Linked DNA regions of Homo sapiens: regions 1 and 2 are each linked to region 3. The links are contacts of gene promoters, found by promoter capture Hi-C in blood cells and fetal thymus (Javierre and others, 2016). All regions are on one chromosome and are shown on one strand. Each heading gives the region's core, a stretch centred on a gene start or on the middle of the fragment in contact. The rest is flanking DNA. Distances are from core to core; before and after follow the strand shown. Region 1 overlaps LOC107984123 (a long non-coding RNA gene). Region 2 overlaps LOC124901750 (a long non-coding RNA gene). Region 3 holds the start of AGBL3 (AGBL carboxypeptidase 3).

Region 1 (4,109 bases), core at 577-3,076, 270 kb before region 3:
TCCACTCCTAGCTTTGGTGCCCCTTGACTCTCCCTCCTGTTGGGTGAATGAGCTGCCTGGCTCCTCCCTGAAGCTGGTTCCTCCCCTTGTGCTCCAGAGCCCATTCCCTGATTTCTATTCAAGGGTTTCACTGCGACAAGTCTCCTATCTTGCATCAAGTTTTCTCTTTCTTTCAGTAACGCATGTCAGCATACACACCTGCTGTTATTTCTGCTATCTTAAAAAAAGATTTTTTTTCTTAAAAAGAGACTTTTGTGAGTGTGTGCCATGGTAGGCTTAAAGTAACAGGGTCCCGCCCATCTAACATGCTGTAATAAATGTGCTGGAGCTGAGGACCTGCGCTTAGCTGCTCCAGGAGTCCTGGATGCCTCTCATACCAGTCAAGAGCAGGCCCATCCTCTTTCCTTACCCTACTGCTTCTGTGCCCACAGAAGCCCTTCACATCCTGTCTCATTCTGCCCTTTGTTCCTTTTCCTTTGGTTGACAGCTCCAGGACTTCAGAACATTCCCTATGTTCTCACCAAACAGCTGCCAGGCAGCCAGGCTCAGTTTTCCAAGTGGGTTTTCCTGTACTTTATTTTCGTATCGTGCTGTCCCCAGGCAGCCAAAGCAGGATGAACAGCAGGAGAAGAGAGCCAGGCCCTCTCCTGGAACAGCCTCCTGGTCTTCCCTCAGCTGTACTTTTTTTTATTGTCAGAACACGTAGTTTCAGAGCTTCAGGAACAAGGCAGCTTTGTGAGAAGCATATGCAAGAAGGGACAGATTTCTGACATTTCCATAAAAGCACAAAGGCTTGTTTTGTTCAGAATCAAGGTTGGAGAAGTAGCTGGTGGATAAGAAGTAATTGACGAGATGGGCTTGGGGTAATTAGCTTGATTCAATTAGCATGAGGTGGAACTGAGTTACCCAAGCTAGATGTCAGCTCAGCCCAGCCACCACCCGCCCACACCATCTGCACTCAATAAGCATTTATCTGTTGGAGCTTTTTCTGCACATTCCAAGGTCGCTATCAGAATCTGAATCCCCTGTTCTGATAATGCAGTGCCTAGAGCCACGGCCTCGCAGCTTCCCTCCTTCACCTCCAATCTTGCTTCTTCCCGCCTCCACTTGACCTCCCATGATCCCCCTCCCAGTCATCACCTAGAGGTGATGCACAGAGTGGCCGACAGAGTGAACTCCAAGGGCTGGCTTCACATTCCTACATCCTAATTCTTTAGAGGCAGGGCTTTTTTGTGACTTTAAACAACAAAATTGTTCCCCATTCATTAACTTATTGGGGATAAAAAGAGTTAGAGGTGAGGTGATCTGAGATTCTTCTATTAAATGGTTTGGGGCTTCAGTTAAATCATTGTTTCTTCATCTGTCAAATGGCAGTAATAACAGAGGCCCAACCTCCACAGGGAGCTGCTATAACAACAACAACATAAAAATCCCCAAGGGGTACCCGTGATGTTGGTTTCATGTGTCAAGCTGGCCAAGCTATAGTATCCAGTTATCTAATCAGGCACTCCTTTAGGGGGTGTTGTGAAGGCATTTTATAGATGTGGTTAACAAACCAGTCCACTTTAAATTAAGAAGATTGCCCTTGCTGATGTGATTGGGGCTCACCATCCATTAGCTGAAGGCCGTAAGAACAGAACTGAGGTTTCTGGGAGGAGACATTCTTTCAAGACTGCACTGCCAACTCCAGCCTGAGTTTCCAGCCTCCTGGAAGCCCTACAGATTTCAGACATGCAGTCCCCACAAACAGATAAACCAATTTCTTAAAATAAATCTCGGTGTCTCTATATCGTATTGGCACTGTTTTTCTGCAGAACTCTGATTGCTACAGTACTGACTGATATAGGAAGATACCTTCCCGATACAAGTCCTTGGTGGGGAGGAAGGGAGATTGAGAACCACGTGAAGGTAGTTTTATGCAATAACTCCATCCCAGGCTATGCCAATACCCAAGGCTGCAGGAGAGAAGCAGAGGGCTGTTGGGCTCACAACCCAGCACAAGGTTGTGGGGGGAAGGGACACCTCCACATCCTGCTGAGGTCCTCTCTGACTAGGGGCTGCTGGCAGGTATGGCTCAAGGAATGAAGTCGCAGCCTTGGACTAAATAGGATCAGGGTGGAGCTTGGTACAAAGAGGGAGGGGCTGGCTAGCACTGGCATACATTGCTTGAGGGCCTACTATGTGCACGCCCCTCTGTAAAGCTGCATTTCTTCTTTCCCACACAGCTGGCTTGGTGAGCCTCTAGGGGTGGCCAACCTGAGCTCCTGCATTCCTGTCTTTCCAGCAGGAGTTCAAGCTGCCCCTGAGCACAAAGGCCCTTCCTGCCCAGCTCCTGGAGAGCCTCCCTCTGCCCACTCGGTGCGGTGATTTGTAAGCTGTGAAGGGCTTGCGAAGCTCCTATCCCTGCACACCCCGGGGGAAGTCCTTGAGTGCGGGCTCATGCATCTCAGGACTGCTTTGGAGTCACACAGGACTGGGTCTGGGTCCTAAGACTTAGCCGGTGTTTCAGACTCTCGCTAGGAGATAACACAGTCCAAGCCTTTGGGAGGGCCTCAGTGCAGGGGAGGGGCTGCTATGATGCCTTGAAAACTGTAAAGAGCCATGCAAGCCCATTCTCCCCGCACACCCTGCATTAGTCTGGGTTCTCCAGAGAAATAGAGCCAATAAGATGTGTATATACGTAGATACAGAGAAAGAGAGAGGTGAAATATTTATTTTAAGGAAGGGACCCATGCAGTTGTGGAGGTGCAAGTCTAAAATCTGCAAGGCGGGCCGGCAGGCTGGGAAGAGCCGCAGTTCAAGTCCAAAGTTGGACTGCTGGCAGGATTCCCTCTTTCTCCCGGGAGGTCGGTCTCTTTCGATTCAGGCCTTTAACCTATAGGAAGCATTCTGAGGATCATCTGCTTTACTGGAAGTCTCCTGACTTAAATGTTAATTTCATTAACAATACCTTCACAGAAACATCTAAAATAATGTTTGACCAAATTCCTGGGTATCACAGACTAGCCAGGTTGACACATAAAATTCACCCTCACCCCCAGTGTCCAAGCCCAGGTACACGTATGCACCCTTTGCCCAGAAGCCTCACCAGAAAGCCCTCGGAACCCTCGGACCTCACTGTAGCTCCTGTTCAGGTGACTTTATTACCAGGAGCAGCAGATGAATCTGGTTCCACCCAGCTGTCCTGTGGCACAGGGTTGAGGTCAGCACTGCCCCTGGCTCTCAGAGTGTGCAGGATGAGCAGGTGGGCTGTGGAACTCTCTAGAACCCATCAGGGCAATGCCCTGTGCCCAGGACATGCTGAAAGTACCTGGTGTTATGTCACCTCCGAGGACAGATCCTGCCTGTCCTCCTTGAAAGGCCCATGGCCTGGGCCCCAGCTGTACTTTCTACCCCCTTAATAGGAGCACAATAGCAGCAGGCCAGCCCTTTGTGCCAAACAGTCCCTAAAGACCAACACGAGGCCGTGCTTCTCTTATACTTTATAATAATCAGAAACTAAAATCATCAAAATGCTTCTGGAACAACCCACTCCAAAGAGTCCTGGAGGCCAAGGCAGGTGCAACCTTAGCTGCCAGCATTCAACCTTGGGAACTGCCCACCTCATTCAGTCCCTCCCCTCGCAGCTCCTCTTCTGCATTACAAATCTTCATCGTCAAAGGTCTCTGTGCACTGCAACATGATCATCTCTTCATCAACGGGAAAGGATGCTTCCTGCAAGACACAGGGTGGAAGAGGGTCACTTTTTATCTGTGGGTCTTGGGCCCGAGGCAGATAGGAAGGCTCCTGCATCTCCGGTGTGCCCAGCCCCCAGACTCTATCCTACGTCTCTTCCGCTGCATTTTCACCTCCAGCTTGGGCCAGGAAGCAAGGGCTCTAAGGGGGGAAGGTCCCATTTCCATTTCACTCAACTCAGCATTCTATGACCTCCAGAAAGGACACAGCAGAACTGGCTTCTTTTTTATCCTGGGGATTTCCAGGTTCCCACAAGAGAGACAGAGGACCTCATAAGGCTTTATCCAAATGCTCATCAATAGAAGACGGTGCACTGCACCACGGTGCTCCCACCAATGAAACACCATGCAGCTCATTTCCAACAAAAATAATGA
Region 2 (4,210 bases), core at 1,236-3,735, 270 kb after region 3:
TAGCTACTCGGGGAGGCTGAGGCAGGAGAATCGCTTGAACCTGGGAGGCAGAGGGTGCAGTGAGCTGAGATTGTGCCACTGCACTCCAGCCTGGGCGACAGAGGAAGATTCCATCTCAGAAACAAACAAACAAACAAATAAATAAATAAATAAATAAATAAACAAAATCGAACTACTGCAGAATGCACAGCACAAAGTTGGAAAGATGAGAACACTAAAATCAAAAGATTAGAAGAAGAAGAAAAGAGAAAAGAGAATGGTGAAAGGGTAAGAGAGGAAAAAAGTGGCAAAGAGAAGAGAAACTTGGCCGGAGGAAAGGAACAATAGAAGAGAGGGAATCTGCTCCAAAGTCATCTTTGTGGCTATTGACTCCTGGTGAGCTTTAAATTTGAACACGACCTGTGAATAACCGGCAAGGTGTCTGTGCACAAATCATACAGTAAAGACTTCCACGTGTTAGGATCCAGCCATTCTAGGATATTCACTTAACTAGAATGTTTTAGCTGTGCTCTAGCTTTAAGAAAGAGAAAAACCATCAGAGGAAAAAGCTACAGTCAGGGAATGAAAAGAAAAACCCCACCATAGATCTTCAGGGTAGAGTCACACTTGCTTAGAGCCAAACGGAAACCCCATCACAAAGTATTGAGACTGCGTTCCATAAATTACACAGCACGAGCTACCCCACTACTATCAAGTCTTACCTATGTGATGAAAAATATTCTTCAAGTACTGACTCCAAATCTGATAGGATATTGTGGTTACCATATGTTGATCATTTACCAGTATTCCTACAGCAATAATGTTGCAAGGAATACCATCATCTCCATTGATGGAGATGGAGACACTACCGCCAAGAAGGGTGGAATAACTGGCCTGAGGTCACACAGCTAGTCACTGGGATTGGCTGTAGACCCCCTCGGTCTTTCCCCTAAACCACATCCACCCTTCACCCCCCCACCTCCCCTAAACACACACAGCCATGGGGTTGTATTTTTTGCTATAGTAGAACAGTAAACCCAGTAAACTGTTCTACTATAGCAGTAGAAACCAGCAGTAGAACAGTAGAAACTGTTCTACTATAGTAGAAACCCAGGAATTCTAAGTTTTTTAATCCACAAAGGCTGAAACAAAATCATGCCTTGTGCTCAATTCATAGAATTGCAGAATTCCAAGGCTGGCAGGACTCCAGGGTCATGAAGTACCCCATCCTTTTTTTTTTTTTTTTTGCAGATGACTTAAACCAGGCTCAGTGAGTTGAAAGGCCCAAAGTCACTGCAGTTAATCAGAAAATTAAATTAACTGAAAATCGCCGTTCTTGAAAATATCCTATTCCCAGGCATTTTCTTGCACCCCTAAGGGGAACATTCTTCTCTTCCAGAGGGCTGCTCCACTGCTCTTGCCACAACTGTGGGGGACACAGGGAGGCCACAGAGCCTCCTGTTCCAGCGGCCTATAGCGAATATCAGGAACAGCCCCAGGCTGTTGGGCTACAGGTAGGGAGAAGATTCAGAGGGTCTGTTAGGCAGACCACAGCTTTGCTAAGAAGTTACATGGCAAACACCAAATCACCAGTTCTCAACTCTTTGTTTGATGCTATTACTTTTATAATCTATGGTTCCCTTTAAATCTAGTGTAATATGACAAGCTTATAATTCAAAACACATTTGTACAAAATGTAAAATACACACTGTACAAGCCCATGAATATAAGACACAATGTTCCCTTCAGGCCTCCTACTGAAAGCAGACAACACTTCTTCAAATCATCTGACATTTCTTGTCTGCTAGCTTGAAGACCCTTCATTCCCCACTCTCTGTTGTTTTCCTATTGACCAACTGCTACATTTCATGTGGGTCCTCTTGCTCATGTATGAGTGCATGTTAAGCGTTTGTTTTCCTTTAGGACAGACATTCCCTGCTGTGTTTTTCCTGGATTTGGACTATTTTTACTATTTACTTTATGTTGCCATGGAGATGGGGAGATCACAGATGTTAAGCGTTGGAATCTGGGGCCACAGGAGACATTTATCATTGTACTTTGTATGAAGTAGGCTCTTGTTCCCCATTTCTGCAAAGCCTCATGTTTATTTTATAAAGAAGTTACTAATGAGGACTCAGGCCTAATAAATAATGGGAAACTCTGCTTCACCTCCATGGCACATGCTTATTACAACAGCGATCTTATTAGGAAGGAAGGTAGAGCTCCTGAACACACAGAGATTAGCAGCCGTCAGTTTTTTCCTCTGCAGGAAATAGAAGGATGCATCAGAACAAGGGGCCCATTCATCATTCTTTCCCAGCTCCTTGAAGAAGAGAAACTTTCCCAAATTATTTCAACTATGCTCTGCAAGGAAAAAAAAAAAAAAAAAAAAGAGGAGGGCTAACCAGAGTGCCACTGTCGTCACTAACAAATGTTTGCTGATTACTGGTGAACAAAGGGTGAGTCTGACTTCAGCAAAATACAGTGGGTGAAGTTTACAAAGGCTACATTCTAAAAAATACTAAACATAGGTGCTGAAAGCATACACGCTAACCAAAGCGGGGGTTAAGAAACCCAGCTTTTATTCTTTTGAAGGATCTGTGTAGCTCAAAGTACAACTGAGTTGAAACAGAGATACAAACAAGAAAACAAACACTCACTGCGGGCATCTTTGGCGATTGATGTGAACATTTCGGGGGCATCTTTGGTGATTGATGTGAACATTTCGGGATTTGAACATTTTGGCTTTTGAACAGGTAACTCTCAAAATTCATTCCCTTAAGACTCAACCAAGGTAACTTTTGGCTTCTGTCACCTTGTCCAAACCAGATTGGGGTCCTTAAAAGCTCTTTTTTGCACACACACAAGGCCGTTGACGTCCAAGCAAAACAAAATGGACAAACACATATCGGACAATGGCCATTGATGGGCCCAGCTACACTCTTCCTGTGCTTGGAGAAATCTCTCCTATCCCCCCTCGCAAACTACCGGTTTCTTTCCCTGGACGCTGTTCTCTGCCTGCTCTTTCTAGGAGACAATGATGACTGCCCCATTTCCCTGGACTCTAGCCCTTTGCCTGATTGGTACTTTATTTAGATTGGCTGTTTGGCTCTTCCTAGGCTTCACCCTGGGTGCTCTGCTACTTTTTACAGGTCTACACCAAGTTCCTCTGGCGAGCCTCATAACCCTGTTCTGCTCCCAACTCTTGTTGTAGGGACCCCAGCCCTCTATTTGCCCTGTAAAGTTATTTGGACATATTTTTTTATCCCTTTTTGTCTCTCCTCTTTCTATTTTTTTCTTCCTTATTTATTCTTCACTTCTCCCTTTCCTTCTTCTCTGAAGCTTAAATTTTCTCTTTAAACAATCATTTTTCCGTTCCCAGTGACCTTCATAATTTGGTCTGAAAGTTAATATTTCTGTAGCTAAAATGTTTTAAGAGGCAATAGTGGCAGAAAGAACATTGGACTAGCTTCAGACCTTAGTTCTAACATTTGTGAGCTGTAGGATATTGGGGAAAATAATGTCCTTATACCTCAGTTTCTTCATTTGCAAAATGGAGATAATACTCTATAGTGTACACAGTAGTCATGAGGCTAGCATGGGTGAGAACCACTGATAGGTTCCCAGTAAAAGGTAATTATTTCATTCAACTTGACTCAAAAATTTATTTGGCAAGTGTTATTCATCTAGGTATGACATCTAAGCAATAGTGACAATATTTTGGGGAAATAAAAACTCCAGAAACAGTTGTCAAGAACTGCTAAGGGTCTTAGATTTTACCCTTCTTGAAAACTAGCAACCAGTATAAGACATGAGACTTCTGGGTCAGAGACAAAGAATTTTATTATTCACAACAACAGCAGTAGCCAACGTCTTCTGATTGCAACAGAAATTTGTACAGTAATTTACTCTAATTTTAAAACAGCTGAGGCCAGGTTTTATGCATTTTTAATGCATAACAAGCCTTTTATAAATCATCTGTATTTTACTACTTGTCTCTGCTCCCATCTCAGATACATCATTATATGAAACATTTTTTTCCCATTAAATAAACACATGTATACAAATAAATATAAGTATGTAATTTATAGCAGTTGAGTTTAGTGATTAAAAACTCAGGTTCAGAAGTCAACCTGCCTCGGCTCAAATCCCAGCTTAACCACCACAGAGTGACCTTGGGCAAGCTATTTAACTTCTCTGTGCCTTTTTGTCATGTCTGTAAAATGGAGAT
Region 3 (3,971 bases), core at 892-3,391:
AGAAAAAAAAAAAAATTAAATTAACAAAAAGAAAAACACAGAAAGCCATAAATCCTTTAAATAGCTAAAGTAAGCTTTAAGAGCTTATTTCGGGACATTAGTTTACATACATAATTTATACTTTAATAAAATTTGAAGGAAATCTCGCAGCCTATGTAGTAGAAAAAGACTAAAGAATTTTAAATACTACGTTTTTCCCCCTTTTTCTTCTTCCATGTCTCTTCCTTTATGACATCAGAGCCACAATAAACTGTTATGGTGATACACAATAAGGTTAGAACACGGTGGTTCTACTATGATTCATACTACGATGTAACACAATCCAATCAGCACATAGAAGAAAATAAGTGGACATCAATCCTAAAACTAAAACCCTACTAATAATTTCATATACAAATTTTAATAAAACCTAGAAGAATCTTAGCTAAAATATTTTCTCAAAAAAAATACAAATATAGTTTCTCTTTCTAGACAGGGCATAGTGTTCCCAGTGATAGCTTAGCTTTTTCAGCCAAATTATTTCCCAACTTCAATGACAATAATTTAAACATCCAATTGATTTTTATATCCAATTGATTTTATAATATTTTAATTGGGGATTTATATAATACAAATTTTATCTCCAAGTAAAATAAAGTTGAGAAAAACATACCGATTCATCTTCATCACTGATTGTTCTGTCTGAATAGTCTTCCTTTTCTGAATCTTCTGACATCTTTTCCAGTGTTTGACTTGAGATTTCTTGTAATATACGGGTAGGCTGTAAAACAATTTCTAAGGAAATTATATGACAGCTTTTCTTTTCAAGCTGTAGGTGTTTACTACATTAAATGAGTACTCAAAAATATATTCAATTGTATTTAACAGTCACAACAGTCTTCTCTAAAAACTAATTAGAATACAACTAATAAAACCTTCAATTTCAAAGAGTTAAAGGAATTTTCCATGACTATACGAGACAACAACCACAATAAGACAAATCAAGCAAATCATTTAATTAAAAGGAATTTCCAGAGTATACAGCCAAATCATTCACATTTTATATTTACAATTAAATACTACACAGCAAGTTCAGAATGATCCTGAGGCATTAAAAGATAATGAATTTAAAAATTATAGTCACTTACTGAAATGTAGCAATATAATTTTAAGTTTTCTCCTTGATTTTCACTTGACCAAAAGTTCAAGTGACAAGACTTTACATTTTGATTATTATTCTGTAGATACTGTCTGTTCTAATATTCATTTATATTATTCTTATTCTTAGAAATCTAAATAGCTACCAGAAGGTTGTATTGGTAATGACCATTACCATTCTATGCAAGTATCTTCCCATGTGGGTAATATCAAGACCAGGGAATAATCGAAATTTCTTGTCAAGTTCCCATCGTTCTTGAGAGACCAAAGGACTCGACAATTTCAAATCTATTAGTTTACGCCCCTCTCTACAGGAAGCGTGTTTTGGAGCGTGGACTACATATAAGTTAAGTCCAAGCTCTATGGCAAATCACTGCCAATGCCACGGAACCGACTGTCTCATAGATGACACCTTCAGTCCTAAGAAACTGAAGTTTCTGCCTGGGCATCACAACTCCACATTTGGAAAATCCGACTGGCCTAAATTCCATTCCTTACAGGTGCACACAGGGCGCACGAAGTGCTGACCTGCTGCGGATACAGCTCTGGTCTCAGGAAACGGCCCTTATCCACCGGCGCTCCGCGGGTGTCTTCCACCACTGCGGAGGAGGGGCAGATGCGGGCGCGTCCACGCTTAGCCGCGTCCCGACAGTACCAAGGCGTTTTTGGCGGGAAGCACGATGAGGCCACAACTCCGGGCGGCCGAGTTCCTTCCCGCACTCACTCCTGGACACCTTGGTGTGGGGAGGCGCTCATTTTCCGGGGCGCGCTCGCTTCCCGCAGGGGGCGCCCCGCCTTACTTCTGCATACCTCACCGTCCTGTCGGGGCCGGCACCTCGCTCCCACGCGAGTCCTCTGGCCAGGCCAGTCGTCGCTTCCGTGCGGGGAGAATATCTCGGGATCTCGCGATCTCGCGGAGAACCCGGTATCCAGCCGCTAGAAGTAACGCCACTGCTGGAGATCCGCAGCCCCAGCCACACTCCCAACTCTCGTCATCAGGCAACGGGTCCGCCCTCGCGAGACTTCGGACAGCCTTCGGAGATCACCTAGCAACCAGCTCGGAGGAAAGGAGCCTGCGTAGGTTTTGGCTCCAGGAAGAGGGATCCCAGAGGATGCCGGGAACTCGGGGTGGGCCGCAGGGCGGTCAGAGAGGCTCTCAGAGAGGCTTTGGGGTCTGTCGGGAGAATTTAGGAGTGGGGAAGACCGGGCAGCTATTTATTCCCAGTGGTCTGCACTTCGGCTGTTGCCTCAGAGGAGGCAGTAGAGCATGCTGGTTAGGACTGTGCTTTGGAGCCCACCTGACTTTTAACAGTGTGACATTGAACAAATTAATTACCTGGACTTCATGGGTACAATACTTGTAACTACTACTTGGAGATGTTAGAATATTAAAAAGTACGTTGGTCTTGATTTTTTACAGACTGAGTTCCATTCTACACAATTGTGCGATTAATTCGCTTATTCGATTCTGGAAAATGAGGCTTTTCTCCTTAAATACTAAATGGAGAGTCATAGATGAACTAGGGTGAATTCTCAAAATTATCAGCTCAGAGATTCTTTATAGCAATCGTCAGCTAGCATATTTAACACTGTTTTCCTGATGACTGCAAATCACTATATGTAGTCTCATTTAGTTAACAGACGTTATTCATGAACATCCCATATTGATTTTTTCCCTCATCTTTAGCTCTACAGGGTAAGGTAATCTATTTGGAAAAGTTTTCCAAGTACAGCTGAAAAAAAGTCTAGATTTTGATGATATAAGAATGTAAATAAACACTTTTCACAAAGCGTTATATGTCATGAGATTCGTGATATTGTAGAAATGGAGATAATAAATGGTAGCAAGTTTGAAAGTAGAATAAAGGGCAAAGCACTATGGCTTAAGCATGGAAATGGGTTAACATAATCTCTTTGTATTTTGTAAGTATCTGAAAATAGGTGTTTTTGAGGTCAGCAGTTTAAAAGTATGAACCTTCCAGATTAGACCTTGGCCAGAGAATATTAATAGAGTATATCTTAGATCAACCTCTTGAAAAGTAGCTCTTATAGTTGAAGCTTGTTTTATGCCATACATAAATCACTAAAGGTGACATGCACAGAGAAATCTTTATTTATGTAATCTGTTTTTCTGTTGGATTTTAGTCATGGCTGCAAGCCATAGGATGTCAGCTGTACAAGGTAAAACTGAGAAATGGTCTAACCAGGTTATATAAGAAATTAATGGCAGGGCTGAGAGACTTAAGTCTCGTGATTTTTAGTCCAAATAGTTATATTATCACATACCAAGTAGTCCATGGGAAGAAAAATGATCTTAATGCATAATTTTAAAAACTTAGGATTTTTTTTTTTTTTTTGAGACAGAATCTCACTTGCTCTGTCGCCCAGGCTGGAGTGCTGTGGTGCAATCTCAGCTCACTGCAACCTCTGCCTTTGGGGTTCAGGTGATTCTCATGCATCCTGACTAGCTGGGACTACAGGCACGTGCCACCACTAATTTTTGTATTTTTTAGTAGAGACGTGGTGTCACCATGTTGGCCAGTGTGGTCTCAAACTCCTGGTGTCAAGTGATCCGTCTACCTCAGCCTCCCAAAGTACTGGGATTACAGGTGTGAGTCACCGTGCCTGGCCAAAAACTTAGGAACTTGGCAAAACTTTGAAAATGATATTCATTCATTATTTTATTAACAACTTTTTTCTTTTTAAAGACAGCTCTGTCACCCAGGTTGGGGTGTAGAGGCACAATCATAGCTCACTGCAGACTCAAACTACTGGTCCCAAGAGATCCTCATGCCTTGGTATAACAAATTCACTGGATGGCTGCTGCCTACTAG

Evidence for each region. The method cuts DNA at HindIII sites, captures the fragments that hold promoters and counts their contacts. A CHiCAGO score of 5 or more calls a contact.
Region 1: a contact is called between a fragment that was not itself captured here and the fragment with the promoter of AGBL3 in region 3, in 1 of 17 cell types (neutrophils). The highest score is 6.5, in neutrophils.
Region 2: a contact is called between a fragment that was not itself captured here and the fragment with the promoter of AGBL3 in region 3, in 1 of 17 cell types (total CD4 T cells). The highest score is 6.0, in total CD4 T cells.

What each region holds. Positions count from the first base shown.
Region 1 is chr7:135,258,023-135,262,131 of GRCh38, reverse strand. It overlaps LOC107984123 (a long non-coding RNA gene), which reads left to right. Exons shown (of 6, transcript XR_007060540.1): 6 at 1-4,109. It overlaps STRA8 (stimulated by retinoic acid 8), which reads right to left. Exons shown (of 9, transcript NM_001394401.1): 9 at 3,469-3,714. The coding sequence ends at 3,640. Among named protein-coding and RNA genes, the nearest start is that of STRA8, 26 kb to the right of the region's middle. The HindIII fragment of the contact is 8,504 bases long and covers 1-4,109 here.
Region 2 is chr7:134,718,346-134,722,555 of GRCh38, reverse strand. All of the region lies in intron 1 of LOC124901750 (a long non-coding RNA gene), which reads left to right. It also overlaps a transcript of CALD1 not described here. Among named protein-coding and RNA genes, the nearest start is that of CALD1, 59 kb to the left of the region's middle. The HindIII fragment of the contact is 1,676 bases long and covers 1,648-3,323 here.
Region 3 is chr7:134,984,678-134,988,648 of GRCh38, reverse strand. AGBL3 (AGBL carboxypeptidase 3) reads right to left here and starts at 2,141. Exons shown (of 17, transcript NM_178563.4): 1 at 1,948-2,141; 2 at 653-774. The coding sequence starts at 715. RefSeq lists enhancers at 1,450-1,709, 1,790-1,929, 1,940-2,239. The HindIII fragment of the contact is 3,121 bases long and covers 77-3,197 here.